5 separate regions of the Homo sapiens genome follow, and all the other regions are linked to region 1. Evidence: promoter capture Hi-C in 16 types of primary human blood cells and fetal thymus (Javierre and others, 2016). All regions are on one chromosome and are shown on one strand. The core of a region is centred on a gene start or on the middle of the fragment in contact, and the rest is flanking DNA. Distances in the headings are between cores, read along the strand shown. Region 1 holds the start of CARMIL1 (capping protein regulator and myosin 1 linker 1). Region 2 overlaps TRIM38 (tripartite motif containing 38). Region 3 overlaps SLC17A2 (solute carrier family 17 member 2). Region 4 has its middle 25 kb from the start of SLC17A3. Region 5 has its middle 4.5 kb from the start of SLC17A3.

Region 1 (6,209 bases), core at 2,017-4,516:
TTTTAGATTATACACACTAAATGGAGCATGTAGTTTAACAAATATATGTTTAATAAGGGGTAATCAAAATTTTCTTCTTGGAAATACCGCCATGAAAGTTTAGAGCTGCTGAGATAAAGAGTGAAAACGGGGAGAAAAAGACAGTGTACGCATAAAGAACAGCATGGAAATCTGAGAAAGCACAGCCTGTTCAAGGAACAGCAAGGAGGTGGAATGTTTGGGGCAAGGGAACATGTAGAAGAGCTCACTGCACTATGAGTTCTTCACAAAGCTCCTATCTTATCAGAACTCGAGAAACAAGCACAGGCCACTCCTCCCTCCCCTAAAAAAGAATTGCGGGAAATGGGCATCTGAAATTGACTTAAGAACATATACACATGGAAACAGACTGGAAAATCATATACCCTTTAAAATAACTACCTCTAAGTGGTAACAGGAGTGACATATAGTCTTCTTATTCTTCTCTACATTTAAATTGTTTCTACATAAAGTCTATAACACTTTTTTTTTTTTTTTTTTTTTTTGAGATGGAGTTTCACTCTTATTGCCCAGGCTGGAATGAAATGGCTTGATCTCGGCTTACGGCAACCTCCGCCTCCCGGGTTCAAGTGATTCTCCTGCCTCAGCCTCCCGAGTAGCTGGGATTACAGCCACGTGCCCCCACGCCCAGCTAATTTTTGTATTTTTAGTAGAGACCGGGTTTCTTCATGTTGGTCAGGCTGGTCTCCAACTCCCGACCTCAGGTGATCCACCTGCCTCGGCCTCCCAAAGTGCTAGGATTACAGGGGTGAGCCACCACGCTCAGCCAAGTCTGTAACACTTTTTAAATATCTTGAGGGAATCTTAAGGGAATATATAGAGGTTTTCATGTGGTCGGTCGCCATTTTGAATTGATCAGAGCAGAACTCTTGTGAGCACTTGAATTTAGAGGAAAGCAGGTGCAGGTATTTATTCTATCCCAGCCTAACTTGACCACTGAAAGGCCCAGAAAAATCATATCGGGCATAATATGTCACTCTCTTGAAAGAGATAGGCAATACTTAATAAAAACAAAAATTCCATTTCAAGATAAAGGTCAAACTCAACTTTTAAAATATACAAACTATTCCTTTTGAGAACCATGAATAGAAACCCAGACACCTTATTTCCACTCTACCCTTCACTCTTTCTCTTGGGCCTAAGTAATTACCTACACTTTCCATTTCCAGACTTAAGGACAACTCCTTATATAAAGTAAAAATCTGCCACCCACTTTAGCCATCCTTATCCCCTGACCAGCCAGGCAAGCCCTGCCCTACACTCATTCTCAGGACCTCTGGAGGCGTCTTCAGAGCCTCTGGCGTTTGCTTGGGGTGTTGGAAAGGTCGCAGCCTCCCAGAACCGGATGTGTCACTCACTCCAGCAAAAGATGCAGACTCCACAGGGTTGGGGAGAGAGAAGAGGATCTGCTGGGATCATGATGAGAGGTGCGTGTGTGTGTGTGTGTGTGTGTGTGTGTGTGTGCGCGCGCGCACACGCGCGTGCGTCTGTGAATAATTTCATACTGTAAATTCTGGTAAAAGATCAGGTTTGTCTGTAATTCAGCAGAAGTAGGGGCTTCCATACAAACCTAGCAACAGCCTCTCTACATCAAGTTTTACCTGCTGAGTTAACAGTCACCAACGGAAGGGCATACACAAATTCCTCCAAAGTATTATTAGCTAAAAGAAACAACAGAGGGGCAAATTCCACACATGGAGATCAACGGGTGCTCAGAACTTCCTCTTGTTGTCAGCGCCGATTAAACATCATCTTTGTGAGCTGTAGGCTGTGTAGTGTGCCAAGAATGGTACAGGAGGGAATATAGGTCACTAGGGCTCAAAACACATCTGTACACAGACGCACATACCTTGTTACAGTATAACATGCTACACACATATACATGCTTAAACGCTAGGTTTTCAGAACACTCTCCCATCCTATTTCAGCTCTGCCATTTTAACCCTCCAGATAATTAAGTTAAACCCCAAGACTTAACCAGCCCCGCCCCCACCACCACCAAAAAAAAAAAAACCTCAAGGTACTCAAACAATGGGTCACCTTGCACAGCGTAACACACACGGGTTCCCTAAGAGATCCCCTATAGGGAGAATCGGTAGGTTAATCATTATTAAAATAAGGCTTTTATCATTAACCCTCTATTTCCTGGCCTGAGTCTGCGTCAGCCCTGTAACCCTTTCGCTCCCAGCTGGCTACACCAAGCCACACCTTGCCAAGCCCAGTCATTTTACCAGACTAGCGCCCACTCCCCCAAGTCTGCGTGTCAGAAGATCACCTCCCGCGGGGCATTTTCAGGAAAGCGCCTGACACGTGCCGGAGACGACCTACTGTGCGCTCGCCACCTGTCCTTCCAATAGGCTTTCCCGGACTTTCCCGAGTTTGGGGCAGTGGGCTGGGAGCTGTAAAGGGCTCCCCTCGCTTGCAGAACTCCCAAGTCTAAGATGGCCCGCCCCCTTCTTTCGCCAACCTGGATCCCCGCTTCCGGGCAAGAGGAGGTGCCCAGGGCTCACAGTCGAGACCCTCCTCCCACCCACCTCCCGAGGACTCCCGATTCCTCCCCGAAGCCTTCCCTCTCTGCACTTGGCTCTACAGGCGGTCGGATGGGAACAAACTTCCCGGCACCCCCAGTGACCCTGCCCAACACCACTCTGCCCTAAGGGGCGCCAAGACTTCTCGAGACCTGCGGGAAAGCAGAGGTGGGAAGGGAGAGAGAGGTGAGGAGTACGCAGAGGAAGGTGGAAAACCAACAACCGCGTGAATCTTACCTATCAACTCCCTGGGAACGTCAGAGCTCTCCTCGGTCATGGTTGCCCTGTAGGTGTGGGGGTTATTGCAGGTCCAACTCTGATTTATGGCCCCCTGCCCTTCCCCGAACTCCTCAATTTTTTTAGAGAGGCAGATGCAGCTTGCAAATGGAAGTGGGCAAGAAAAGGGGGGGCGGAGACAGAATTTTGCCGCGCGCCCCCCGCCCCACCAAAAAAAAAAAAAAGAGTTGCAAATGCGAGGCGGATTTGCTGCTGCTGCTACATGACGCCTCCTCGCAGTTCCCGGCGGCTGAATAAGGAGCGGACCGGATTACAAGCGGGCGCGGGGCGCGGGGCGGCTGTGGCGCCTGCTCCTCCTCCCGGCTCGCTGGTCCCCGGCGGGGCTTGGGCCGGCGTAGCTCCCGCCCAGCCTCCGCGCCGCACCTACAGCCCTAGGTGAAAGCGGAAGGCGTGGGAGAGGGCGGGGAGAGCGGCGCGGGGCGGGGGGAGTAGGTTTTCCTCGCGCTCCTGCCGGGCTCCGGCTGGGCGGGGGCAGCTCCGGCCCTCCTCCTTCTCCTCCTTCTCCTTCTCCTCTTCCTCCTGCGTTTCCTCCTCACCTCGCGAGAGCCGGCCTCCGCACCGGTGCGAGGCCGGCCTCCGGTGCCCGAGCGCTGGGTCCCCGGCGTAGGTCGCACCCCCAGGAGAGACGCTGTGCGGTGCTGCGGTGGCGGCGGCGGGCACCGCGCCCCTCCTCGCAGCCTCCCTCCCAAACCGCAAAAGCCCTGCGTCTGGAGAGGGGGCGAGCGGGCTCGCGAGAGAGCCCGGGAGCCATCTGCTGGCTGCGAGGGAGGAGAGCCGGGTGAGCCGGGCTTTCCATTTCCTTGTCCCCACTCCGGGCGGGCCAGGGGACCCAGAAGACGGGAGACGGCAGATTCTGCAGACCCGTCTACACGGAAGCTGGTTCTTTTTGGGACCCTCTTACGCACTTTTTCTTTTTCAACCCTCCCGGTGACATGTCACTTCATCATCGCTATTCTTCATTTCTGATGAGCTAGACGAAACCTGTGAACACTAATCATACCGTGAGAAGACACTTGTGTGTGTGCGTTCAGCTGGTGCTCTGCAGCCGCAGTTCGCTATCTCAGACATTCCCGTTGAGAGCGCCTTGGAAAATGCCTTTCACTCGGAAAAGTCTCTTTTATCCTCGGGGCATATTCAGGAAGCTGAGCTTTAATCACTGGAGCCTATGTAAGCCTGCGGATAGGTCTGATCCTACCTGGGCCCAAACTCCCTATGACTTCCCTGAGCTCCATCCCCAGAGGTTCAACTTCAGGGCCAAGAATACTTTGTGCCTCAATCGCTGCTTTTTAGCCTAGGGCTGGGAATGTCCCAGACTGTCTAATCAGGTTCTGCTTTTAAAGGACAGAAAAGGAGGAAAGGAAAGGGAATCCATGCACTTGGCAATCTAATTTTAAACACTGCTGTTGACCTTGGACCCCTTAGAATCATCTTCAGCCCCACAGCCAGGCCTTACCACTAAGGATTTGCCAACCTGGCCCCTTCCCACCCTCCTTAACCTCTCCCACTCCCTTCTCTATTACAACCAGACTCACTGTTTGCTTCCTCCTTCCTCTTAAGGTTATCTGATTCTTATCTATGTTTTCAAACCCATCCCAATGGTCTACCTTCTTTGTGAATATTTTCCAGGGATTTTCAGATTACTGTGATCCCTAAGCCTCTACAATATGTATTGCCTGAAACACTTTTCTAAACCCAACCATATGGTGTCGTGTTTCATTGCTTGTGTATTTGTCTGGTTTTACTATCTAACTCTTGCATTGTCCCCTGAGTTTGGATTTTTTCTGCCCAACTAGACTGTAGGTGAGTTGAAAGTGGGAATTTATCTTAGACTTTTGAACTTCTTCAACAGCCTAGTTCAAAATAGGTGTTCAATAAACATTTGTTAACTGATTTTAGAGCTTTGGACCTCAGGCCTCCAACCATTTGTTTCAAAAGTGGGCAATTTCTTTAAGCTAGACATTTCCTTAATGCATTAAATATATTTTTTCTGCAGTAAATGGAAATTAACATCTCAAACTGTCTTTCATTCAACCTGGTGTGTTAAAGAGGACTTTTCTGGCACATACCAATGAAGTTTCAGAAATGCCCTGAAGTTTCCAAACCATGTGATAACTTGTGAAAATAAGAACAAAAGTTTGTCTTTTTTTTTTTTTTCCTGTGGCCTGGGTGATGGAAAGAATAAAGGGAAGGCTGTATGGCAGTTCTGTAATTCAGTACTCTTTGGCTTCTTTTAAAGGAAGCTGGGGTTTCAATAAAAGAATCATTTTCACTGCAACAGGATCCTGATTGGCTCCTGCATCTCTGAAGAAGTGAATTCAAATGAATCTCCTATCACAACACTGAAAAATGACTGACTGATTTTGGAAATCAAAGTCATTTACTTCTCGGTTGCAAAACTCAAATATGTTTCAGAATAGCAAGCAGAGAACTCCAAGGAGCACTGTTTATAAAGCTGCAAACCCAACAAGCAGTAAACATCCCTAGCACCGTAAAACCATGGTGCCAGCTTGGAGAATGCAGTTTGCATTCTGAAATGTGTGCTTGTTTACTGAATCGGCCTGCCCCTTCTACTGCTACTGCTGCAAAAACAAACTTTTCTCACTCCATCACTCCAACTTCCTCAAATTCATCCCTGTTTATATAGTCTTGAATACACGAGTGATCAAACCACTACATGAAACTGATTGTGTTACATATGTGATTAGCCATAGCTTCATCTAAGTAAGTATTTACATGTGGCTGTGTTTAAGCCATACAACTAGTACTGATAATCTGAAAGCTGTTAGTAAGATAAAACTTTTTCAGAGAATCCCTACTGCATTTGAATCTGTAAAATGTTTAACATTTAACATATAGTGAGTGGCAACATTATTTTGAAAAGGAAGATGGAGAAGAGTGTAATTTGAAAAGCATGGCAAGGCCAGGTGCAGTGGCTCACATTTGTAATTCCAAATGCTTTGGGATGCCGAAGTGGGTGGATTGCTTGAGCCCAGGAGTTTGGGACAGACCAGACTGAGCAACATAGTGAAACCCCATCTCTTTTGAAACATACAGTGAGTGGCAACATTATTTTGAAAACTTATCCATGGATTTTTATTTTTAATTCTAAGCATATATTCACATCTATATAGTACATTTTGTAATGCATTATGGTCAGAAAACACTCTGAGTAAAAAAGTTTGCAGAAAATAGTGTCCCTAAAATGACACAACATGCTATCATTAGAACCATATCATGTAATGATTAAACCCATGGAGATAAAGCAAACAAAAAAGTTAAGAAGAAATCAGCACTCTAACAAAAAAAAAAATCACAAACTTACGTAGGTCAGTTTCTGATCTCGTC
Region 2 (6,209 bases), core at 1,635-4,134, 690 kb before region 1:
CATTCTCCTTTAATAGCACTATAACATACCTTTTTTCCCTACTCCAAGTACACAGCCTCACCTGCAGCAATTTCTGGGCTGAGCCCTGACATTTTTCCTCCAGTTCCAGGATGTGGCTCTTGAGTTCATTGCTCTTCAGCCCCAGACCAGCCTCATAGTCCCTCAGTCTACTCAGAGTCTGTTGTTCTTCTTTCTCCAGCCTCCAGAGATAAGACTTCTCTTCCTCATGTAGGAAACACTGGAGATTCTTAAAGTCAGACCGGATTTTTTGTCTCTGAATCTGTACCTTCTCCTGGAGTCAAGAAAGTATGGTCAAAAGGTGGAAGTAAACCAAATGTCCATCTATGGATGAATGGATAAACAAGAATGAAAGTCTGACACACGCTACTACATGACAAGCCTTGAAGACATTCAAGCAAAATAAGCCAGAAACAAAAGGGCAAATATTGTAAGACTTTGCTTATACAAGGCATCTGGAGTAGTTAAGTTCATAGAGACAGAAAGTAAAATAGTGGTTACAAGGTGTTGGCAAGACCAGAAAATGGACAGTTATTGTTTAATGGGTAGTGAGTTTCAGTTTAGAAGATGAAAGATGAAACTGAGTTGCAGTTTGGAGATGGGAATGGTGATGGTTGCACAACAATGTAACAATGTAAAAGCACTTAATTCTACTGAACTATATACTTAAAAGTGGTTAAATGCTTAAGTGTTATATATATTTTCACACAAACACACACACACACACAATCAGCCACTGGGACATTATTTTCTCATGAGTCACTGAAGCTGGAAGAATGTCCCCAGTTTCCTGCTGCAGAGTCATGTGTGGGAGGCAGGCACTCAGATGTGGAAGAGGTTGCCTCAGATTCCTTATAGTCACCCAATTAATTTTCTTGTTCTTCAGCCAAGACACAGGAGAAAGCTGGGTTAGGAGTGCTAGATAATTTAATTGTGAAACTAGGGCCAAGTTCAAACACTTTATCAGTTACAAGGATAAAAAGAGGTTTTTACTTATGATTTAAGAAGTTAGATTTCTGAGTTGGAGCGATTTTCTTGAAGTAAAAGCTTATAATGAACATCACCCAGACTGGATTTTAAGACAACCAGGCTGGTAAGAGGGTCCATAATTCTTGGCAGGGGGAGCTTTGAGTGTGACAGGCATTTATTATGGTTAACTGAGAAATACTGTTCTACTACCCTAGGGTCATCTTAAGCATTCCTATGTGTAAGACTGACAGAAATCAAGTGAAACTCTCATCTGAGGAGATGTAAAGTTGCAATTTCCATTAGTGCTGTCTAAATTAATGCAGTGGGAGTGTGTATTCAGGGCAATTTGAATCTATGTTCTTGGATTGCAGTCTTCAAACTTGGCCCAAATAAACTCTCTACTTATCTTAAAAAAATAAAAATTAAAAAATAAAAATAAATTCATACAGTGTTTTGATGACTATGATATAGAAGAAGGGTCTTTGACTTAGGATGAGGTGGAATTTTTGTGTAGGAGACAGGTGCAGCTTTAACTCTTGTATAGACGGGTTTTCATATATGTTAGTTACAATCAAGGTCTTCCCCATTGCCCAAGATCCTAGAAATGGGGGAAGTAAGAGTGTACTCAGGAGCTCAAGAGCAACATCCACAAACAAAGATCAGGGTAGAGGTTAGAGAGGACTCCTGAAAGAGAGAAAATTGGTAATCAGCTTGTGGGATTTTACTGCAAGCTAGTGAATTATATAAATATAAAGATTGGTGCAAAAGTAATTGTGGTTTTTGCCTTTACTTTAATGGCAAAGACCGCAATTACTTTTGCACAAACCTAAATATTTCCATAAAAGAATGTGGCTCTGATAATGTGGAGGTTAGTCAGCCACGGAAATAATCTGAAAGTTTGTAGTTGCAAGTGTGTAGGTTGTTGCATTACTTGTGATGTACTTATAAATCAAGTATAGGCCGGGTGCAGTGGCTCACGCCTGTAATCCCAGCACTTTGGGAGGCTGAGGTGGGTGAATCACGAGGTCAGGAGATCAAGACCATCCTGGCCAACATGGTGAAACCCCGTCTCTACTAAAATACAAAAAATTAGCCAGGCATGGTAGCACATGCCTGTAATCCCAGCTACTCAAGAGGCTGAGGCAGGGGAATTGCTTGAACCCGGGAGGTGGACATTGCAGTGAGCTGAGATCGCACCACTACACTCCAGCAAGACTCCATCTCAAAAAATAGTAATAATTTAAAAATAAATAAATAAATAAAGTATATTTCTTTCATCAGCTTCATGAGCTAGAGTAGTATGAATTTCAATCTGGAGTGATCCTGTTTTCTAAGTGTTCACAAAGCTTGGTTTCTGTACCTGTAAAGTTGAGAGCCAGATGCTCCACTGTGGTAAAAGTGCCAGGGTAATGAGTTGAGGCCTGCAAACCAGGTTTATTTTGACGTATTTAAAGTTTGAGACCCACTCGATGCTTTTTCTAGGTAAATAGTCATACTAATTCTGCTTCTTCTGACTGAAGTATCAGGAATCCCAGCCAACTACAGTTTAAAGATGGAAAGATTGGTGCTAAATACTCATGGATGTAAACCTGGAACCAGGGGCATAAGTACAAATAATGGTTTCTTCCTTGGGTTTCATTTTTTCAATCTGGTTTAGTGAGAATAAATCCTCATTGTGCTTTTCCTCAATCATCCCCTATGCCTAAGCTCTAGAATGGAAAATAGCTTGAGATCAATGAAGTCAGATTCTTACTTTCCATTTAGTTATTCGCATTGCTGTGGACAGCTTCTGCTCCGTACATCTGTCTTCAAGTTGCTTCAGTTTTGTCACAGCTTTCTGGAGCTTTTCCTGAAGGAAAAATTTGATAAGTGAAGCCTATTCAATTTGACTCTTCATTAGGGACCTAGGGGGAATCCCAATCTTCTAAGATATATTTGAATAATAGTGAATATTTATAGAGTCCTCATTGTTTTTTGCTAGAGAGCATGCTAAAGGCTATATGTGCAGGAACATACTGATCCCCTTGGCAACCCTGAATAGTTGGTAGGATTTTAAACTTCATTTCTGTGCTGTAGAAAATGAGACTAAGAAAGGGGTAAAATAACTTGCCCAAAGGGCTATGACTGCCAGGTGGTGGAGCAACAATTGCAATCTCATCTGCTGACCCAGAGCCTGAGCTATGTCCACCACTAGAGTCCTGCCAGGAAAAAGTTGGATATAGAACAAGGTAATCATCATCTAAAAGATTTTGTAAAACAACATGCTGAACCAAGCAAAACCAATACCAGTGTTTGGCACACATGAAATTTTGTGTCTTATGAGTCAGGAAAAATCAGGATGCCAGCTGGTTATTAGAAACAGTTCATGGAAGAGGGGAATTCTGGTATCTTTTGAACAATGGTATCATGAATCCAATTTAAAATGATTTAGTATTCATGTCAAGCTTTTAGCTTATTCTTCAAAACAGTTTCTCATATTTCTATTGAAAGTGATTTGAAGCTGACCCAAATTGCTAATTGTAGTCAATGCTGAAAGAATTGTCTCCTGTCCTCTGTAAACCCAACAAGTATACTCATTCATTCTCGAGTGTTCTCAGGAAAAGGTTCTATGTAACTGTTTTAGCAAAAGATGACATTGTCCTTACTATATGCCAAGTGCTATTCTATGCATTCTATATTTTAATGTCCTCAAAGCTTATAACCACCTCCTGTGTATGTGTTTTAGGGAGGGAGGACACTGCTATTATCCCCATTTACAGATGGAGAAACCAAGGTGTGAAGACATTAAGTAACGTGCCCAAAATTGCCCATCTAGTAAGTGACAAAACTCAATTTCAACATAAGCTGGTTCCTTTTCTTACTACTTGGTGGAAAAGTAATTCAAATGGGAATATGATCATCGCAGTTATTAGCTGCTCCATGGAGTTTAAGGAAGAGCTGCCATGAGCTGAGTGGTGGTCATGATTGACATGTCCTTAGAAGGACTTAGAGCCTTCATACAAGACCACCTCTGCCTCATGGAGGACAGAATAAGGAGCCTGACACTGGAGACAACATTTTCCTCAAATTTAGGCAGGACAGAGAAGGAAAAAGGACATCAGGACTATGCCCATTCCTCCATGCTGCCAACAGCAAAGTCCCACCTTCCTTAATATGCTTTCTGGCAAGAAATCTGGATGGTACACAAAACCTCTCCCTCTGCTTCACCTTCCACAACCAAGCATTTCCAAATCTTTGACTCTTCTTCCTGAATCGTGCTTAAAATCTGCCCTCTCCTCCCTTTCTTATACGGATAGTTTGAATTTTACTCCTTGATATTCCTTTTATCATAGACATGCCACAGTAGCTGGGCACAGTGGTTCATGCCTCTAATCCCAGCATTTTGGGAGGCTGAGATGGGAGGGAGACCAGGGGTTTGAGGCCAGTATAAGCAAGAAAGGCAGACCATGTCTCTACAAAAAATAAAAAAATTATCCAGGTATGGTGGGGCATCCCTGTAGTCCTAGCTACTTGGGAGGCTGAGGTGGGAGGATTGCTTGAGCCCCAGAAGGTTGAGGCTGCAGTGAGCCGAGATTGCACCATTGTACTCCAACCTGGGATACAGAGCAAGACCCTACCTCAGGAAAAAAAAAAAAAAAAAAAAAAAAAAGTAGAGGTACCAGAGTGATATTTTCAATGTCACTGACCCTTCATTCCCCAAATGAAAATCCCCCAATAGGTGTTCAATTTTTACGTGTCCTTCAGGAGTTACTTCTAAGATGAACCACTCTCTACCCTAAATGTCCCTCCCCACCACCAAAACCAGGGACCTCCAGGCAGACATTTTTGATGGTTTGTTTTCTTTACTAGACTGTAGATACCTAAAAGGTGATGGGTCTTTCTTCCCTGTTTTCAGGCCCTACTGCATGGCTTTACATATTGTGGTTTTTCAAATGATATTCATGGTGTGAAACAAGAAAAAATGCGGGTGTTTGGTTTGAGAACAACCTGTTCTAAAGCAAAAAGAAATTCATCATAACACAAATGGATAGAGATAAGAGTCCAACCATCCCATTGAAGGTCAGGATGGACAGTCTAGATAATTGAGCAAGAAATCATCATAAACTATTTTTCAGAAGAATGACATGATGAAAGCTGTATTTCCAAGTCATAATGTTAGGTTTCAAGTTAAATCATCTCAGCTCCTGGGGAGCAGGATAAGACTTGGTACTTACCAAAGCTCCCGGGCCCACACACTCACCTTGTAGCCCTGGCATACGTCTTCAACAAGAGCTGTGGTGTGCCCTTTGTGCTGTGGTGCCCGCTCACAGCGCCAGCAGATGAGCTGCCCCTCGTCTTCGCAGAACAGGTGGAACTGCTCTCCGTGTTCCTCACATGACATTTCTTGATCCGTCTCTTTGAGGGCTTCAATGAGGCTTCCCAGCTGCTTGTTGGGTCGGAGGCTATCCATATGAAATGGAGCCCGACACTGGGGACAGCAGAATGTCTCCTGCCTCAGTTGCTTTTGGCTTGGGTTTTTAAAGAAGTCTGTTATACACAAGTGGCAGTAGCTGTGTCCACAGTTGATGCTTACTGGGTTCGTCATCAGGCTCAGGCAGATGGAGCAGGTGGCTTCCTCCATCATCTTCTTGGTGCTGGTGGTTGAGGCCATAGCTTTTATTGAAAAGCTCCAATATTGGCTCTAGAGATGGAGATGAAGCAGCCAGAATTTTCCACCGTGATGAAAATACACCTCACCTGCACCTCTATGTGATGAGCTGGCTGCAACTGACTTCCATAGGTCTTGAAGGTTTTCCTTCCAACCCCTATTATCTCATTTTGTATTGAAGAAAAGAGGACCTAAAAGGAAGAAGTTGAGGCTGAGGTTGTTTGGGCCACGTTTGAGAACTGCAACCCAAGTGCAGAGTTTCAAGTTGCCCTCATTAGCAAGCAGTTACAAGTGGTTGTTTAGAGGAAAAAAAGCAGTTTTAAAGCAGTTTTAAAGTTGTTTGCCAAGAATTTACATTAAAATAGCATAAGCTTTTGACTGGCTATACATTGTTCTTTGTATTACAAATCTCGGGAATATGTAGGTAATAGATGAGGCAGCCAGTCAGGAACAAAATGCTTTTAAACATGGGGTCTTAACTGAAGACCTATACTCCTGCCTCACTTGTCCTGATAAATTTTGCATACCTCACATAGCTCAGACTGCTCTAAATTATTTCATTATTTTTCTTTTC
Region 3 (6,209 bases), core at 2,641-5,140, 650 kb before region 1:
TCACGCCTGTAATCCCAGCACTTTGGCAGGCTGAGGCGGGCAGATCACTTGAGGTCAGGAGTTTGAGACCAGCCTGGCCAACATGGTGAAACCCTGTCTCCACTAAAAATACAAAAATTAGCAGGGCGTAGCGGCGCGTGCACCTATGCGCATGCATAGTGCGCGTGCCAGCTATTCAGAAGGCTGAGGCAGGAGAATTGCTTGAACCCAGGACGTAGAGGTTGCAGTAGTTGAGATCATACCACTGCACTCCAGCCTAGGTGACAGAGTAAGACTCTGTCTCAAAAAAATAATAATAATAAAAGAAAAGGAGAACATGACCAAAGTTATGAATAAGACTGAAGGCAAGAAAATTGTACGCTTGTAGAGATCACCTAGCTTGTTGCCCTCATTGTACAGCTAAGAAAAGGCACCCAGGGACATTGTGGTCAGCACCAATTTCTCAGAAAGATAGGCAGATGATGAGAGGGCCCTCAGTTTTTCTAACACTGAAGGAATTGCTTCTATGTTTTCTGGTGAACTCCTCCCCACTCATCTTGAGGATTCCAGGCCAGAAGAATCCACTTTAAAAAAGAAACATTTAAAACCAATTTAACAACCAATCAAAGGCACTTTTATAGAAATACATTTCATTTGCTGTAGGCCTGTATTTATGGATCTGAGAGGGCTAGACTGCCAATATTGTGACTGTTTATTATTATTGCTGTTGCTAGTATCTAGAATATTATACAACATATAACACTTTGCAATTTACGAGGCATGTCTCATACTTTTGTTTTCACTCCAAACTGCCCAGTGAAGTAACATTATCCCAATTCTTCCTATGAAACAGTGAAAGCCCTAAGAGTTTTTGAAACTTTACCTGGTTTACTCAATTTGGGAATGGCAGAGCAGAATTCAGTCCTTGAATATCCTCCCACTGCAGGTTCATGCTCTTTGATCTAGGTGTAACATTTACTCTGAGTAAACTAGGACTCTGGGCTAACAGAGATGAAGCAAGACAGGCTGGATATTAGGAGAATCTAAGAGCAATCTAACGACCATTATAATAAAATCATGAGTTCTAGACTTAAAAAAAGGGAAAAACCTGTTTTTTTGCTTATGCGTATACCATAATATTTACATTATTTATTTTTTTCTCAAATTCAACCTATACTGTGTCAAGTAATTTTTTTTAATATAACATTTTCCTTTAACTTAATTTCAATTCATTTTTCTGTGTCTACTTACAACTTTGGCACTAGAATTCACAATTTTTTTTTAGAGGTATATCTCCTTAAAGGGAAGGGTTCTGACACTGTTACATGTTCTCAATTGTTTGCAAATAGGTTAATAATTATTCCAGTGTCTCTAAGTACATATCAACCATGCCAGTGTTCAGCCTCCATAATTTTATTAGCTTCTGTGCTTATTTTGGAAAAACATTTCCCATTACCATGAAAGACCTCAGTTTAGGATGGTTTGGTATGTTAGCCTGATTTCTGCATTCGTCTCATGCAAAGGAAAATAGGAAACGAAGAACTGAAATTACCTATTGATACAAAATCAAAGTAGCATTTGAAACCATAAAACTTAAGTAGGGCTTTTCATCCTTTCTCGTTAGACAGCAACAGAGAATGGGAAGAAAAACTAAAGTGATGGGTTTGTGATACAATTCCAGTAACATAAAGAGCAAGGAGAAGTAGTTTTGTTGTGTTTATGTTTAATATTCAAAGCTCAACCTAAAAGTATTTTTCATTATCAAACTTCCTTCTAGAATAAATGATTAAAACTTGATTTAAAATATACAAATTCTCCTTTATAATACCTCAAAATGGAGCTACCCCATTGAGTTTTAAGCTTGTGATTAAAATATTACGAAAACAAAGGGGAAGTTGTAATAGGTAGAACAAGCAGTAGTCTAGGCATTAGGGGATCTGGTGCTGGCTCTGTGCATCATGTGGTTTCAGGCAACTTTTCAAATTTTCTACGCAAATTTTCTTATCAATAAAATAAACAGTTGGGCCAGAGGATCTCTGAGTCTCTTTCAGCTTTCAGTGTTTATAAGATTGGAGAAGTTGGTGGGAAAGCTTTAAGTGGAGTGTAAGTAATTGCAGCTGCATGTACAGTTAAAGAGTTGCCTTCAGCCAAGCCACGGGATCTTGCATAAAAAGTGAAATCAAATAGAAAATGGTCCAAACTCTGGGTTTGACCACAGATGACTTCAGCTAGGATCTGAGTGTAGAGCAATGAGCTGAACTCCTGATATCCAGATGTTAGCAAGACTTGGAGGCCTTCTAAGGCAGAGCAACAACCAGTATCTGTCCTGGTGCTGACCTGATCTTACTAGCAATTGGGCCTCCATTTGGGTCCATTGTACAAAACAACAACAACAACAACAATAAAATCTCCAAACACCCAAAATTCAAAATTTAGATGGAGAGATACTATTCCCAGAATTCTAGAGATATTTGGAAAGCAGAAAACTATACTTGCCATGCTGATGAAGTCCAATTATTGCTCTTTTAAATACATTTAGCTACTTCTGAATATAAAATGAGTATCTACTAATTATTTACAAAATCACTTGGTAAATATAGAAAGTCACAAAGAATGAAGTGATCATCCTGTTTTGTAACCCAGAAATAGTCATTACTGGCACTTGTGTGAATCAGTTTCTATTCCTGTATGTGGATGTGCACAGCGTATCCTGCTTTGTACACTAGAGTACTAGCATTTTTCTAATGTAATTCAATATTGTCGAAAACATTTTAAAATAGCTTCCATCACAATAATCTATCAAATTGACTTGCCAGACTCTCATTATTAGGTTAATTTATCTCTAACATTATGCAGTCATGAGTAATACTACAAAGGATATTTTTGGACACAATTTTTCATCTATGCCTTTCTTTATAATCCTTCATCCTAAGGTCACAGATTATGAATATCTTTAAAGTACGGACAAGTCTTTTAAATTTTGTGTGCAAAAACAGTGCAAAGCCTTGAATGATAAAATAGAGGTTTGATATATGTGTTTTTTTGTTTGTTTGTTTTGAGACGGATTCCTGCTCTGTCCCCCAAGCTGTAGTGCAGTGGCACGATCTTGGCTCACTGCAACCTTTGCCTCTTGGGTTCAAGCAATTATCCTGCCTCAGCCTCCTTAGTAGCAGGGTCTACAGGCATGTGCCACCACACCCGGCTGTTTTTGTATTTTTAGTAGAGATGGGGTTTCACCATGTTGGCCAGGATGATCTCGAACACCTGACCTCAAGTGATCCACCCACCTCAGTCTCCCAAAGTGCTGGGATTACAGGTGTGAGCCACTGCACCCGGCCGATACATGTGTTTTTAAAGTCACAGAAATTTCAGATGTCTTGAAGGATTTTAAGCAATTTAAAAAATAAAGTCATAGAAGCTTCAATTTAGGAATGAATGGAAAATTGATGATATTCTTAGGATATGGATTTTTCCTAAAAGAAACAAATGTATGCATCCCCAAAGATAATTTGATTAGTATACAAATATTAAATTAAACATGTCCATATTTAGAGCCATGAATTCTCTTTGCCTGTCACAATAGCTGGATTTATTCACAATTGTAGTAATTAGTCCCTGTTCATTATAATTTTCTAGGTGATATGAAGACTTTGTCAGTCCAAGCAAGTGTCCACATTGTGTGTAGCAAACATGAGAATAAACATTTTAAACTTTTAAATGTAATACATATTAGTGTTATGTAATGTCATCCTTCATGTTCGAAGGCACATGGAACATTGTTCTGGTGGTACAGAGGGGAGAGAAACACCATCAGAATGAAAGGAAAGACCGCTCTGGAACCTTCCTCCTTAGCTCTTGAGCTTAGTTTAATTGTCCTGTCTTATGGTCTGCTACAAGCAATACCACTCTTCACCTTCGCATGCTTCTCTGTGGTTTGATAAAGTACATGCAATTTTTCATTTAATTCTTCCAGCTGCACTAAGAAAGGAGCCTTATCTTTATTGAACAGATGAGGAAATGAATGATTAGAGAATTTAAATGACTAGCTCTAGGTCACACAGCTGGAACTTACAGCCAGATTTCCTTTTAACAATCCTGTAACCAAAAGCATACCAGTAGTGCCCCATAAAATGTAAGTTATAGAGCTGTGTTGGGTCAAAACTTTTACTGATGCTAAGAGGAGGCAACATTAACAAGGGGAAATTATTTGTGTATTATGTTTTGGATTATGTTCTCTCCATAGATAAAAGACTGTCGTAGTAAAAGAGATTCAGGGCACAGGGAAACTCCACCACAAAGCGTGGTACCATTTCCCACAGAAGCTAAATGGACGGGAAGCCTGCCACCAGGAAAGGTAAAGCCACTGCTCTTGTTTGCAGGCTATGTTAATAAGCTGAAGCTTATTCCGACACATTTACACATCTCTGCATCACACTGACCCTTCGTAAAGATACTCCCAGTGTAACATTGGAGCCAGCTCCAGCCCCTGATCCTGTTGCTTTTTCCTTAGCCCCATGAAATCATCTGTGAGAAATTAAGCCAAATAAGCAATAAATCCTGGGATCTAGGGAGTGGAATAAGTTTTGGGAAAGTCTTTTTTTTTTTTTTTTTTGACTGAGTCTTGCTCTGTCTCACAGGCTGGAGTGCAGTGGTGCGATCTCGGCTCACTGCAACCTCTGCCTCCCGGGTTCAAGTGATTCTCCTGCCTCAGCCTCCCGAGTAGCTTGGACTACAGGCACACACCACCATGCCCAGATGAATTTTTGTATTTTTAGTAGAGATGGAGTTTCGCCGTGTTAGCCAGGATGGTCTCGATCTCCTGACCTCGTGATCCACCGGCCTCGGCCTCCCAAAGTGCTGGGATTACAGGCATGGGCCACCACGCCTGGCCCGGGAAAGTCATTTTAAACCAACCTATGTATGAATCCCTACTATAATATTCTCACCAAGCGGCTGGCTCTTTCTCCTGAGCTTGGAAACCTCCAGTAAAATGGAAATAATTATTTCCCAGACCACCACTCTTATCTGTGAGCTTTTTTGGCCATTAAAAATTATTTCTTCCATTATATTTTTATCTGTGTCTTCACAGGTTTTCTCTTTCTTTCACTTTAGTGCTTTTCTTCAAATAAGCAGGAAAAATCCAATCTATCATGCACATGGGAACCCTTTCAATATTGGTCTGTGGTTGTTCCATTTTATGGGGATGCTTTTAAAGAAAAAATTTGTCCTTTCAATATATTGAATATCTTCCAGCACCACATCACCTGCAAGCTTTGTAAAAATAGTTCTACATATTAATTTTTTTTTTTTTTTTGAGATTGAGTCTCATTCTGTCACCCAGGCTGGAGTACAGTGACATGATCTTGGCTCATTGCAACCTCTGCCTCCTGGGTTCAAGTGATTCTCCTGACTCAGCCTCCCGAGTAGCTGGGATTACAGGCATGCATCACCATGCCTGGGTAATTTTTGTATTTTTAGTAGAGATGGGGTTTCACCATGTTGACCAGGCTGGTCTCAAACTCCTGACCTCAAGTGATCCACCTGCCTTAGCCTCCCAAAATGCTGGGACTACAGGCGTGAGCCACTGCACCCCACGTAGTTTTTTTTTTTTTTTAAGTTGAACATATGTGAAGGCAGGACCTAGTGACACATAGCAATAACATTTCCAAGTAGACATTACACTAGGGAATTAGTCGAAGTGCTCATTTAAAGTACCATCTCTCAAATGTATTAAAAGAGAATCCTTGGATGTGCAATACCTTAATTCAAAGGCAGCTCGTTATGTATAAACTCTCAAGCTTTGTGATAAACAAATGTGCATAACAGATGGGACTATTCACTTACAGCCCAGGGAATTTTATTGACGCTGAGAAGGTTATGTGACTGGCTCTGCCACTGTCATCCCCATTCACTTCATTTTGGAGCAATATGACATAAATGCCTTACATGTGGGTTTTCTCTATTTATCATGTGTTTCCTATCCCCTTGAAAGATGGCCATATTTGCTTTACTTGGTTATAAGATCCCATATTCGCTGTCTTGAAGCCAACCAAATAATTTGACAAAGTGGGTTTGTAGTGCTGGCTATTTTGGTGAAAAAAAGACAATGAGACTTCATGTGTCATCCAAAGTTCTATCAGATCGAGCTGTGAGAGAAAGGAAAAGAAAGGGGTCTCAGTCAGGATGCTCACTACATACATCTGTGTTGTTGTCTAGGTCCAGATTTCTGT
Region 4 (6,209 bases), core at 2,029-4,528, 620 kb before region 1:
ATTACAGGTGTGAGCCACCATGTCCAGCCCCATCTTTTTCTTTTAGTTTAGTTCTTAACAAATAGTCTGACACAAAGTGGATATAACAATATTTTGAATTATGAATAACTAAATGAATATTTCCAGATTTCCTGGTGCTCTCAAAGTTTTATGTTACAAAAGAAAAACAAGTCTAAAATACCTGCCTCAAGTTTTTATCTGTACTATGATTTCAAACCAAATAAAAAACAGGTGGGGTAAAAACTGAAACAGGAAATACATATAACTGAAAAATTTTGGTATGTTAGTATGATAATACTAGGTCATTTTTCCTGTTTCCCCAACTTCATTTTCTATAGCAATAAAAAGAAACAAGTAAATGTATATTAATTTAATTTAAAAGAAGTAGTCTACCATCTCTTCTGTTAAAAAGAAAAAAGTATTTTAAAAAATTATCTCTGGAAGGATACACAGGGAACATTGCTCTGGTTTCTTCCAAGAGAGAAATGAGGAACTAGAGAGCATGGCCAAGTGGGGTTTTGCTTTTGTTTTTGTTTGTCTATCTGTTAGCTTTTTATTATTTTCTTTTGTAGGTTTGAATTTCAAACCACATAAATCTGTTACATGCTCATAATAATAAGTTTAAAATAAAACTTTTGGCTGGGTGCAATGACTTACACCTGTAATCCCAGCGCTTTGGGAAGCAGAGGTGGGAGGATACTTGAGGCCAGGAATTTGAGATCAGCCTGGGCAACATAGTGAGACCCTGCCTCTGTAGAAATAAACAAAAATTAGCTGGATATGGTGGTGCATGCTTGTACTCCTAGCTACTTGGGAGGTTGAGGCAGGAGGATCCTTTGAGTCCAGGAGTTTGAGGCTGCAGTGAGCTATAATCACCCACTGCACTATAGCATGGGCAATAAGGTGAGAACTTGTCTCAAAAAAAAAAAAAGGGGGGGGGAAACAAATAAATAAATATAAACAAAACTTTTGTTTCAAAATATGTAATATTTAGCACTAAAGAATTCTGAATTGTAGAGCTAAAAAGTACTTAAAAGTTAATAACTATTGTCTCCTTTAAAAGAATTGTTATCAAAGTATAATTTTTATCCAGAAAATCATCCATATCAGCAAGCTAAACTTTCTCAAAATGACATATCCATGTAATTAGCTCCCAGGTAATTAGCAGGCAGCCTCTACTCAGGTTGAGTATTCCTAATCTAAAAATTGGAAATTCAAAATGCTCCAAAATCGGCAACTTTTTGAATGCTAACATGATTCTCAAAGGAGTGCTCATGGAATATTTCAGATTTTGGATTTTTGGATTTGAGATACTCAGTATAATGCAAACATTCCAAATCTGAAAAAATCTGAAATACTTCTGGTTCTAAGCATAAGGGATACTCAACGTGTGTTAGCTAATTAGACCCTTCATGGTCTCTTCTAGACCTCAGCTTCTTCAAGGTAACCTCTATCCTCACTTCTAATAGCATGAACTTTTCTGTTTTAGAATAATTTGGATTTTCAGGAAAGTTGCAAAGATAGTACAAAGACAGTACAGGAGAGTTCCCATATATCTTTCACCTAGCTTTCCCCCATTGTTAGGATTTTACATTATTATGATACATTTGTCAAATATAAGCAACTCACATTGATACATGAAACTCTATTAACCAAACCCTAGACTTTATGTGGATTTCACCACTGTTTCCACTAATGTTTTCTTTCTGTTCCAAGGTCCAATCTGGAATACCACACTGCATTTTCTTGTCATATCTCCCTAGTCTTTTTTTGTCTGTGACAATGTCTCAGTCTTTTCTTGCTTTTCATGACCTTAACAGTCCTGAAGATCATTTGCTTTTTTTTCATAATTACACCGGAGTTATAGATTTTTTGAAATAATACCACAAGGGCAAAGGGCCCTTCTTGTCACATCATTTTAGGGAGAACATGATATCCACATGACATCACTGATATTAACCTTCATCATGTGGTTTAGGTAATGTTTCAGGTTTCTCTACTGCAAAGTGATTTTTTTCCCTTAATTTAGCCCACCTGAACTTATCAATTTTGTTTTCTTCCATGACTAATACTTTTGTTATTATAGCTAAAACTTCATTGGGGCCAAATCTTAGATCATGTAAATTTTCTTCTATATTTTATTCTAAAAGCTTGTAATGTTTGATACATTCTAAAAGATGTAATGTTTGATACATTACATCTAGTCCTTTGATTTATTTTTAGTTACTTTTGTATAAGGTGTGAGAGATGTCTCCAGTTTCACTTTATTAACACATTGTGGTGTTCCAGTACTATTTGTTGCTAAGACTATCTTTTTTCCATTGATTACCTTTGCCTTAGTTGGCAATATTTTTGTTGGTTTATTTCTAGACTGTTTATCTCATTCCACTGATTTGTGTCTATCTTTTTGACAAAACTGTTGATTACAGTAAGCTTTGAAATAGTTCATTTTTTGTGTCAACTTGACTGAGTCAGGGGATAACCAGCTATCTGGTTAAACATTATTTCTGGCTGTGTTTGTGAGCGTGTTTCTGGATGAGATTAGCCTTTGAATAGGTGATCCTAGTAAAGTAAACTGTCTTTCCCAGTGTGGATGGCATTATGCCACCTGATATTCAGGGTCTGAATAGAAGAAAAGGCAGAGGAAGGGGGAATTTGGGCCTTTTTTTCTGCCTCACTGCTTGAGCTGGGACATCTCATCTGGTCTCCTGCTCTTGAACTGGGATTTACATCATCAGTTCCTCTGGTTCTCAGGCCTTCAGATTCAGACTGAATCATACCACCAGCTTTCCTGGGTCTCCAGCTTGCAGATTACAGATCATGGGACTCCTCATCTTCCATAAATGCATGAGCCAATTCAGTCTATGTCCTTGAAAACTGCCCCACTGCAGATTAAGGCTTTTTTCCACTAGGTGAAATAAAGAAGCTTGTTAGACAGATTTCCCTTCATCCAGTGCCCTCTCCTCTTTAAGTTACAACACATTGGCTACACCTAAGTGCAGGGGTGGGGATGAGGGTATAGTCCTCTTGTTTGCTGAGAAGAGAACTGTATTGGGAAAGCTCTAGAAGTGTTTGATACATACATAAACAAGGCATGGTTTTTGCACTTAATTTCACATTACATTTTTCCCAGAAAAAAAGGAATGTATAGGCATCACGTAACTGTACTAGCTGGAGTCATTCTTCCTGATTATCAAAGGTAAACAGTTATTAATCCTATACCAAGATGTCAAGGAGAAGTACTTTTGGAACACAAGGAATTCTCTGGGAGTCCTTACTACTCTCAAGCCCAGTGAAAAAGTTAATGAAAAACTATAGTACCTTCCTATAAGCTGGATGACTAATTACCAGGCTCATTTAGGAATTTGCCTTACCAAGTAAAACATAAGGGCAGCTGAGGTGCTGACTGAAGACAAATGGAGCATAGAATAAGAGTAGTAAAGAATGCCAAAAATGCTGTCATGTATCCATTGACAAAAGGAGCTATAAAGCCTTTAGGTATTTTCACACTTGCTCTGTTACGTAAATGTATGTGTGTGTGTGTGTGTGTGTGTGTGTGTGATCGTTTATTTTTTCCTTCTTTCCCACTAAGATGTATTAATACTGATTAACACTATAAGTTAAGCTTATAGGATAGGCTATCAAAAAATGATTGTGACTGAGCTGAAAAGAACATTACTCAGGATGGATACAGTGAGTTTCAGATGTTTGTATTCTACTTGGGAGCTACAGACAATAAAAAAGTAAAAACATATACAGTTTGTCAGCTACTGATAAGTGCTATGGAAAAAATTAAAGAAGGAAACGGGGATAGGGTGGGATTAGGTGTGGTAGCCATTCTAACCTTGGTGCTGAAATCTATCAGTATTCTGTTCAGCGATCCACTGTCTGCTACCTGGCCATATCCCCCTGGGAAGTGTGAGCCACATTACTAGCTTCATGTGGTGAATTCTGACTGGTCCACACCAGTCATGTGGTCCCTTCTTCTGTAGCTGATTAGCTCAGGCAGCACCTGAGACTAGGCCAAGTTTTGGCAAATGAGACATAAGGGGGAGTTTTCTGGAAAGGCATTCCTTGATCTCCAAGAGAAACGCACTGTTTCTTCCTGCCTTTAACTTGTGTCTGCATGGACACTTGAAACTGTGACCAGCATGGGGGGTAAAGCCTGCTGTGAAGGAGAGCAGAGGCAAGAAGACTGAGGGCAGTGGAGCCAGAGCTCTGATCACCCTGCTCTGGAACCTTTCTGCCTTTGATGTCCTGTTTGGGGAGATAAGAAATTTATATAGTGTTTAAATTTGTTGAGTCAGCGTTTTCTGTACCTGCAGTCAAAAACATGCTGAGTGATTCAAGAAGTTGGTCAGAACTTCAAAAAATTATTATTCTACATTTTCCCCCAAGTTTTTCTGAGGAAAGAGAGTGCTTGGTAGGCAGGATAACCCTGGAAAGTGGCCATGGGGCTGAGGCGGGTTTTGGAGAAATGCAGACACTGTTGTCTGATGTGAGTTTCACCTGATGAGGGATCAGGATCTTCTTTCATATAATTTGGGAAAGCAGATGTTGGTCCCTTTAGATCTGTTAACTGACATTTAGCATTCAAAACTGTCTCGTGATTCACAGAAGTGTTGTAAGATATTATGCAGATTTTAGCACAGCATTCAACCATTCAATCAGATTTTTATAAAGACTTTTTTTTTTTTTTTTTTTTTTTTTTTTTGAGACGGAGTCTTGCTCTGTCGCCCAGGCTGGAGTGCAGTGGCGGGATCTCGGCTCACTGCAGCTCCGCTCCCGGGTCACGCCATTCTCCTGCCTCAGCCTCCCAAGTAGCTGGGACTACAGGCGCCCGCCACCTACGCCCGGCTAATTTTTTGTATTTTTAGTAGAGACGGGGTTTCACCGTTTTAGCCGGGATGGTCTCGATCTCCTGACCTCGTGATCCGCCCGCCTCGGCCTCCCAAAGTGCTGGGATTACAGGCGTGACCCCGCGCCCGGCCTTATAAAGACTTTTTAGATAAAAACAGAATCTATATCTCTAATGTATGTATTAAGGATGAACCCCGGCTGGGCGCAGTGGCTCACACCTGTAATCCCAGCACTTTGGGAGGCCGAGGCGGGTAGATCACTTGAGGTCAGGAGTTCGAGACCAGCCTGGCCAACACGGCGAAACCCTGTCTCTACTAAAAATACAAAAATTAGCTGGGCATGGTGGCAGGCACCTGTAATCCCAGCTGCTTGGGAGACTGAGGCAGGAGAATCGTTTGAACCTGGGACGTGGGGATTGCAGTGAGCCAAGACTGCACCACTGCACTCCAGCCTGGGCGACAGGGTGAGACAACGTCTCAAAAAATAAAAAATAAAATAAAATAAAAAATGAACCCCTCTCTGTCTTACTCTCTGAATGAGTGAGTCTGAAATCCAGTGGGTTTGGCCAAGCAAGGTAGATGTCTGTGTATATATGGGGGAAGGATGTTTAGTGACAGTTGCCTGGAGTGGAGTGAAGAAACCTAAGCAGAGTGAGAGAGAGGCAACAGTGGAGGCCCAGTGAGAGTACTGCAACTTGAATAGGGTGATGAAGCTGTCTTCAAAGGGGGACAAGAGAACAGCCCTGTGTTAATGTTGGAGCCTGACTGGAGTGAAGAGATTATCCATGTGACAGGTAGGCCCATAGCACAGACATTGGCACTTAAGCAGGGTGAGGAGAGCATCCACATAGAGGTGGTAGCTACAAGATGATGGTCATACACAATCAAGATTGGTCCAATGATTAATATAACAAGGATTATTAGAGTTGCCCAGAAATGTGGTCGATCAACTGTGGCCATCAATTACTAAATAGCATAAAAATATCTCAAGGAGAGAAGGCAAAAACTGAGGACTCCACATACAGAAACCTGTCCTTAACATCCTACAGAGAATAATGATAGGCCAAGAAATATTTTTTTGCCCACTGAGTTCACAGTCTCAGATCCCCAAATTGTTCCTGAGTGGAGTTAGATGGATTATAAGAGACCTCCTTATTCATAATAGGCCCAAGTTGGCCTAGAGAGGGAGCAGAATTGGTTTAATGATTCCACTCCAGACTTTCCTGGGATTTTTCACTTCTTCCTGCTCTCCATGCCCTCTTATCACAGTTGCTTGACTGGAAAAATAACAAGTGGCAAGAGAGATGCCTTGCCTTTTTCTTAGAATTCCAGACTCACTTCTCAAGTCAC
Region 5 (6,209 bases), core at 989-3,488, 600 kb before region 1:
TCCTGAAAGCTGAGTTTAGCACTGGATTTCAATGCAAGCTGTATTAGGTTGGTGCAAAAGTAATCGCGGTTTTTGCCATTATTTTAACGCGCGCGCGCGTGTGTGTGTGTGTGTAAGGGATATAGTCTTTATGACCTCTGCTTTTGGTTTGGCATTAGAGGGCACTACTTTGCATGGGACATCTGGTTGTGGGAAGCCATTACTTTTAATGGCAAAAACCGCGATTACTTTTGCATTAACCTAATAATTTTGTGAAAGAGATTTTTATGTGGTATCCAGAAAAGCACTTATAAAACAGTTTTGTTCATGTGGGCTGTTTTATTTGCCATCAAGTTATAATGAATTTGTCAACTGATGATTAATTTCTTCAAGCCTAAGGGACATGCTTTAGTGCTTTTTATTTGGCATGTTTAAGATTGTATTTAGCCTTTAGATATTTTACTATAGGGAGGTATGTATGTGCCAATTGGTTGAAGGTTTCACTCTGTGGGCTGTCAGCTTTCCCAAGAGGTCTCATTCTAGGGTGGTCAGCCAGGCTGATGTAAAAGAGGGTTACAGGCCAAAGGACGCTCCTGTAATGGCCTCTATCAGCCACATTTCTGCCAAAGCTGGACTCTGCAGAGTCCAGATCTGGAGAGTTCAGTAAGGTCTGTAACCTGTAGTTTTATGGAGGATACCCTAGGCTTCATTTCTAGATAAGCTTGTGTCCAAAGCATTGGTTTAGATTGATTTCCTTTTGCCTGATACTAACTCTAAGGGTAACAAAATCCTGTCTCTGGAATGGTGTTGCATCTGCTAGGAATGAACATTTGGCGCAATCTGATGGTTAGATGGTTTCATAAATATCTGTACATATGGCAGATGTTAGTCTAAAATTTACTTTTATTAAACCTAACTTTAGATCACCTTAAGTTTCTTTGATGGCTACCATTGTCTAACAACTAGAAGCTTACGTCAGTTCCCAGACTGGACTGTGGAATAGAGTTTGACCTAGAGTAAAGAAAGAAGCATGCGTACAAAACACAACCTTTGACTTTGGAGTCCAGAGGAGAAATAGATGTAGCTGCCCAATAAACCCACAGGGTAATGAAAAGTGAAGCAATTACATGGTTGAACAATTATCTTCTAGGCCGTCCTTTTTGAAAGTCCAACCAAAAGCATTATGTCTGGGAATCAGAGGCATTATCAATAGAAATAAAATACATAAAACGTGCAGTAAAGAGAAGAATTTTAACCCTTTTGGAGTATGACTGACCTAGAGTAAAAAATATACATTTTTAAAGTGTGCTGCAATACTAATATATAGGCTTATATGTAAACACATGTGTTGCAGCATCGAAAGTTTCACAAAATAATCCTGACTCTTACTAAGTGGGATGCACTATGATCTGTTCCATTCTATTTGGGCCTCATCCATCTTGTTTAAAAAACCATAGTGGCTAAATTGATAAGAGGTGCTAAATTGATAAGAGTAATGACCTGTAGGTTGAAAATCATTGGGATGATGGGAGTGACCAATCAGACAACTTGGCACTGCACCCACAAGGCTGCAACAATTGGTTCAAATGGTAATAAAGTACTCTGGGCTGGGCCAATAAGAGCCTCTCCTAGGTTTTGAACACAGCTGCTTTTTCTTCGCTTTCATGGATGTGATGAATGAGACTCCAAAACTGCCAACAGACTTGTCTGTTGCCTCTTGGAGTAGATTTAAGAGAAGGGAGAAGGTGCAAAAGAACAGCTGAAATAAGAGTTCCAAAGGTCTTCATTTATTTTGGGGCAGAGATTTAATTCCAGTCTCTGGTCCCTGGAACTGTGCTTGTTACAGCTGCTCATTCTTATATTCTGTGACCTACCTCAGTCTCCATATTTTCTTTTTCTCTTTCTTTCTCTTCCAAAGCCATTTCAGTTGGACTTCTATCACTTGTAAGCACAGGTGTCTGACAAATAGAAGCCACAACTGAGTACAATAAAAACTAAACTCTGCAATACAAAGGCCAATAAATAGGTTTGGCCCTTAATCCTCTCTTGTAACAACATTGACATGATCTTGCTCCTCATCCTGGTTTAGCACCAAGAGAAAAATAAGAGTCTGAGTGGGAGAGGGAGGAATCAAAAGGAACTGAGCCAAATTAAGAGCTTTTGGTGTAAATGTTGGAAGCTGAGAAAAGCCATGTCAAGCCGCAGCAAACTCCCCTTCATAAAGGAGGCAGAGGGAAAAAATAAAATAAAAAAGAGGAGAATAAGAGAGAAATTACCCTTTTCATTTTTCTCCAAGCTAAGACTTGCAATCTAGCTACACTTTAAGTGATTGATGTGGTCACTAGGGGCTAAGAAATAAAAATGTTTCAGGTAAGAACATGGAGCTCCCAGATTCAAAATGCCAGCACCTCATACACCCATCCCGGCAGCACAACCAACATTCACCCTCATCTGCTAAGACAAGTTCTCAGAATCAGAAAGTTCATTAACCTGAACTTCAGTAGTAAATAACATTTAAGTTTTGGAAAGGTATTCTTCTATTTGGCAATTCAACACCATCGCTTGTAACAAAAACCAATAGACAAGTACAACTCAACATCCTCAAGACAGAGCACCAAAATTAACAGAAAAACTAGAACCCCTCTCCAAACTAGAAGAATGTTAGTATAAATATTTAACATAAATAAATGAATAATATCAGAAATATATGCTGACATACTTAAAACAAAAATTAGATATGTGAAAAGGAAGGTTTTCTTAGAAATGACAAATATCCTTAGAATTAGGGAAGAAGGAAAGAAATAAGAAAGGAAGGGAAAGAGGAAGGAAAGAATAAGAAAAAAATGAAGCAGGGAAGAAGGAAGGAAAGGAGAGAAGGAGGGAAGGAGGGAGGAAGGAAGAAGGAAAGAAGGAAGGAAGGAAGGGAAGGAAGGTAGGCAGGTGATCTCAGGAATTTGGAAGAAAATTGATACAGGTGAAATTCACAGTAATGCCAAGATACAAAAGGAAGAATAATGAGAGGGAAATTTTATAGGAAACTGATGTTGAAAGTTGGTTTCAATGTTTGCGTAACAGATGAAATAGTCTGGAGGGTAAGAGAATGGACACAACAGCCAGACTTTCTGGGTGGTTGGATTCCTGACTCCGTAGCTTACTAGCAAGTTACTTAACCTCTCTGTAAACTGGCATAATAATAGTACCTACCATAGAAGTTTGCTATGAGAAGTAAAAGTGTTATTGTATGTAAAGTGCTTAGAATAGTGTTCAGCACGTATTTAGTGTTAAATAGGCCTTATTACAAGGAGTCTCTGAAAAGGGGGTGAGGGGCAGAGTAGAAGAATGATTACAAAGAAAGAGATAACCACCATCTTTATTTGAGGATATATTTAGTAAATTAAATTATATGGAAAATTATTTTGGAATATTGGTTGGAATGGCATATGGATTAGTCTGGAGAGACGAGATTTTTACATTTTTGAATGTTCCTGTTCATAAAAATGTTATGTCTCTTTATTTAGTTCGACTTCAATACCTTACAATAAAGCTTTACAATTTTCTGCGTAACGATCTTCTACATCTTTTATTAGATTTATTCCTAGGTTTTATATCCTTTTGTGGCTGTTACATTCTTTTATTGCCATTGTGAATTGTATCTCTTTTTATAATATCTTTTTTTTTGTTTTGGGCTGGTAATTAAAATGCAGTCAGTCTTTGAATATCACTTTTCCATCTGTCAAATTTGCCAAACTCACATTAGTTAAGTAATTTATGTACAGATTTTTTTTGTTTTCTTATGTAGACAATCATATCATCTGTTAATAATCATAGTTTTACTTGTTTTCTAATTGCTTCACATTTCTTTCTTGTGTTATTGTGCTAGTTAGGCCTTCCAGTGAATAGATGTAGCAAACACCTCTTTTATGTATCTGATTGTAACAGGAAGATTCACCTTCGGAATGTTTGTTGTAGGTTTTACAGATGCTGTTTATTAAATACAGGGAATTTTATTTTATTCATTGTTTCTAGGGAATGCTATCCCTTTACATTTCTTTTTGGAATGCATACAGTAACAATATTTTTTGACTGATGGCTGACTGCCTCCAACTTTTTAATTAAATTATATTTGATTATTTTGAATGAATTTGATTTTTAATTGCTTTATTTCAATCATGAATATTAATCATGACGTCTCAGAGGTGGTCATAGAAATAATAATGGTAATGATAATTATGACAGATGACCTTCATTGATTGATTTTCTGTTATATGCAAAGTATGGTGGATGGTTTCATTTTGTTTCATGATTTATTCCTAATTTTTTTCAATGATCTCCAAGTGAGACTCAACAAAGTAAAATACATTTACTCTAAGTCCCTGGTAGTAGGTGAAGTTGTCTTGATATGAATTCAGCATGGTATAATTTTGTAACTTGTGCTGGTTAAAGAATGCAACACTTTCTCACTTGATAATTATGACATCCTTTATGCACTACAGATATCAATTTTGTTTACTATTCTATCTGAAAGCATATAACACCTCAGCCCATAAGCACTCCTGATTTTTTTTTTGTGTATTCTCCTAGAGATTATACTTGTCACAATTGTTCTTTCTTCTTTTCCATAGCCATTGTCCTCAATATATGATTTTGCAGTTTTAGCTGGGCATTCCTGGCAAAATAGTTGCTGAAAGAAATGGCATCGAAACTGGAAAGTAGACTAGAAAGCAGACATGTGTAAGGAAAAAAGTAAGACGTGTTTTCAGTATGGCAATCTAGGACATAAGTTAATGCATTGTGTAGATAACAAAAAATGCACCATTTTGCTCAGCGATAGAAGACAAAATAATAGAGATGGAGTGTTCCACTAGTGTTCTAGATGGACTTCCAAGCCCATGACCAGATGATGTCAGCCTGATAACTACAGTGACCAGATTGACCCCATTTGTCATAGAGATGGTAAGGCAAAACAGGAGTCTGACTTGAACTTGGAGAAAAAAGGATTTGCCAGAACCATGAAGATGTAAGGTTCTGAGCAGATATAACATCACATATGGGTTCATTGTTTAGACCAGAGTGTGTGTGAAAAACCAGCCAAGCTCCAGTGAATGACCACTGCCATTTAGTCAAGTCTTCTGTTTTAAGACTTAGGCTCATTCAGTGTGTTTGCTTGACAGCTACCCCTGATTCATCAGAATCCCTGCTGACATTGTGAGCTTTGAGGGAAGGTCTGACTCTTAAAGGTGCTTCCTCTCCCTGGACCCATCCTGGGCTTCCTCTAGGAAGACTAGAGACAGGTTTCCTATGATCACAACAGGATTGTGCACTGGAGTCCTCTGAAATGTAACCCAGAATCAGAGCCTGCATCCTGCTGAGCTGTCATGTGACTGATTATTAACAACAATGTTCACAGTCTTATGAAACAAGTCTGAAGATAGCTGTTTTTTTTTTTTTTTTTGGTTGTTGTTTTGTTTTAGAGAGAGTCTTGCTGTGTCATCTAGGCTGGAGTGCACTGGCATGATCATAGCTCACTGTAACCTTGAACTCCTAGGCTCAAGGAATCCTCCTCATCAGCCTCCTGAGTAGTTAGGACTACAAATGCGTCCTCCATCTCCAGCCAATTTTCTAAAAAAAATTTGTAGAGAGGAGGTCTCACTGTTGCCCATGCTTGTCTCAAACTCCTGGCCTCAAGTAATCCTCTGGCCTTGGCCACCCAAAGCACTGGGATTACAGGCGTGAAGCACCACGCCTGGCTAAAGATAACTGTTAAAGGAGAAATGTGTACTCTATCTTTTCTGATGATCCCCATGGCTAAAACAAAGCAGTTTAAAAATAAATCTTATTCAAAAGGAAAATGTAAAATTCTTTTTTTAAAAGAGATGGATATTACAACCTAAGTCAAGGAAATATCTCAATTCATATTCAAGTGTTTAATCATAGAGGTGAAGAAAAGCTGAATTGTTATTCTTTCTACACAGAGACAATTTGGGTCTATTTCTACCAAGTCAAACCAAGTAGCATGTAAAGAACTCAGGAGCACTTTAAATAAAGTTAAACATTAAATTGCAAAACCAAGTAACGTTTTCTGACTTGGATAATTCAGGGTCAGAAACATTTCCTGTGATATGTGAATCCCAAAGTTGATCATTATTTATCCCAGGGTCCAGAGTCCTTCAGAAATGACTCAGGGAAAAATCTTTTACCTAGAAAGGTGAAATTGACACTACCCCCACACG

The links. The method cuts DNA at HindIII sites, captures the fragments that hold promoters and counts their contacts. A CHiCAGO score of 5 or more calls a contact.
Region 2: a fragment that was not itself captured here is called in contact with the fragment with the promoter of CARMIL1 in region 1 in 1 of 17 cell types (megakaryocytes); the score reaches 5.3 in megakaryocytes.
Region 3: a contact is called between a fragment that was not itself captured here and the fragment with the promoter of CARMIL1 in region 1, in 5 of 17 cell types (megakaryocytes, erythroblasts, M0 macrophages and 2 more). The highest score is 9.1, in megakaryocytes.
Region 4: a fragment that was not itself captured here is called in contact with the fragment with the promoter of CARMIL1 in region 1 in 3 of 17 cell types (megakaryocytes, erythroblasts and M2 macrophages); the score reaches 10.9 in megakaryocytes.
Region 5: a fragment that was not itself captured here is called in contact with the fragment with the promoter of CARMIL1 in region 1 in 2 of 17 cell types (erythroblasts and megakaryocytes); the score reaches 6.0 in erythroblasts.

The regions. Positions count from the first base shown.
Region 1 is chr6:25,276,431-25,282,639 of GRCh38, reverse strand. CARMIL1 (capping protein regulator and myosin 1 linker 1) reads right to left here and starts at 3,266. Exons shown (of 37, transcript NM_017640.6): 1 at 2,805-3,266. The coding sequence starts at 2,844. RefSeq lists a silencer at 3,069-3,538. The HindIII fragment of the contact is 9,381 bases long and covers 1-6,209 here.
Region 2 is chr6:25,965,952-25,972,160 of GRCh38, reverse strand. TRIM38 (tripartite motif containing 38) reads right to left here. Exons shown (of 8, transcript NM_006355.5): 3 at 5,228-5,826; 4 at 2,741-2,836; 5 at 62-292. The coding sequence starts at 5,638. Among named protein-coding and RNA genes, the nearest start is that of TRIM38, 6.3 kb to the right of the region's middle. RefSeq lists an enhancer at 1-1,142. The HindIII fragment of the contact is 1,098 bases long and covers 2,336-3,433 here.
Region 3 is chr6:25,923,893-25,930,101 of GRCh38, reverse strand. It overlaps SLC17A2 (solute carrier family 17 member 2), which reads left to right. Exons shown (of 12, transcript NM_001286123.3): 2 at 4,223-4,333; 3 at 6,196-6,209. The coding sequence starts at 4,306. Among named protein-coding and RNA genes, the nearest start is that of SLC17A2, 3.7 kb to the left of the region's middle. The HindIII fragment of the contact is 981 bases long and covers 3,400-4,380 here.
Region 4 is chr6:25,896,554-25,902,762 of GRCh38, reverse strand. No RefSeq gene overlaps it. Among named protein-coding and RNA genes, the nearest start is that of SLC17A3, 25 kb to the right of the region's middle. RefSeq lists an enhancer at 4,058-4,647. The HindIII fragment of the contact is 699 bases long and covers 2,929-3,627 here.
Region 5 is chr6:25,875,610-25,881,818 of GRCh38, reverse strand. No RefSeq gene overlaps it. Among named protein-coding and RNA genes, the nearest start is that of SLC17A3, 4.5 kb to the right of the region's middle. The HindIII fragment of the contact is 2,575 bases long and covers 951-3,525 here.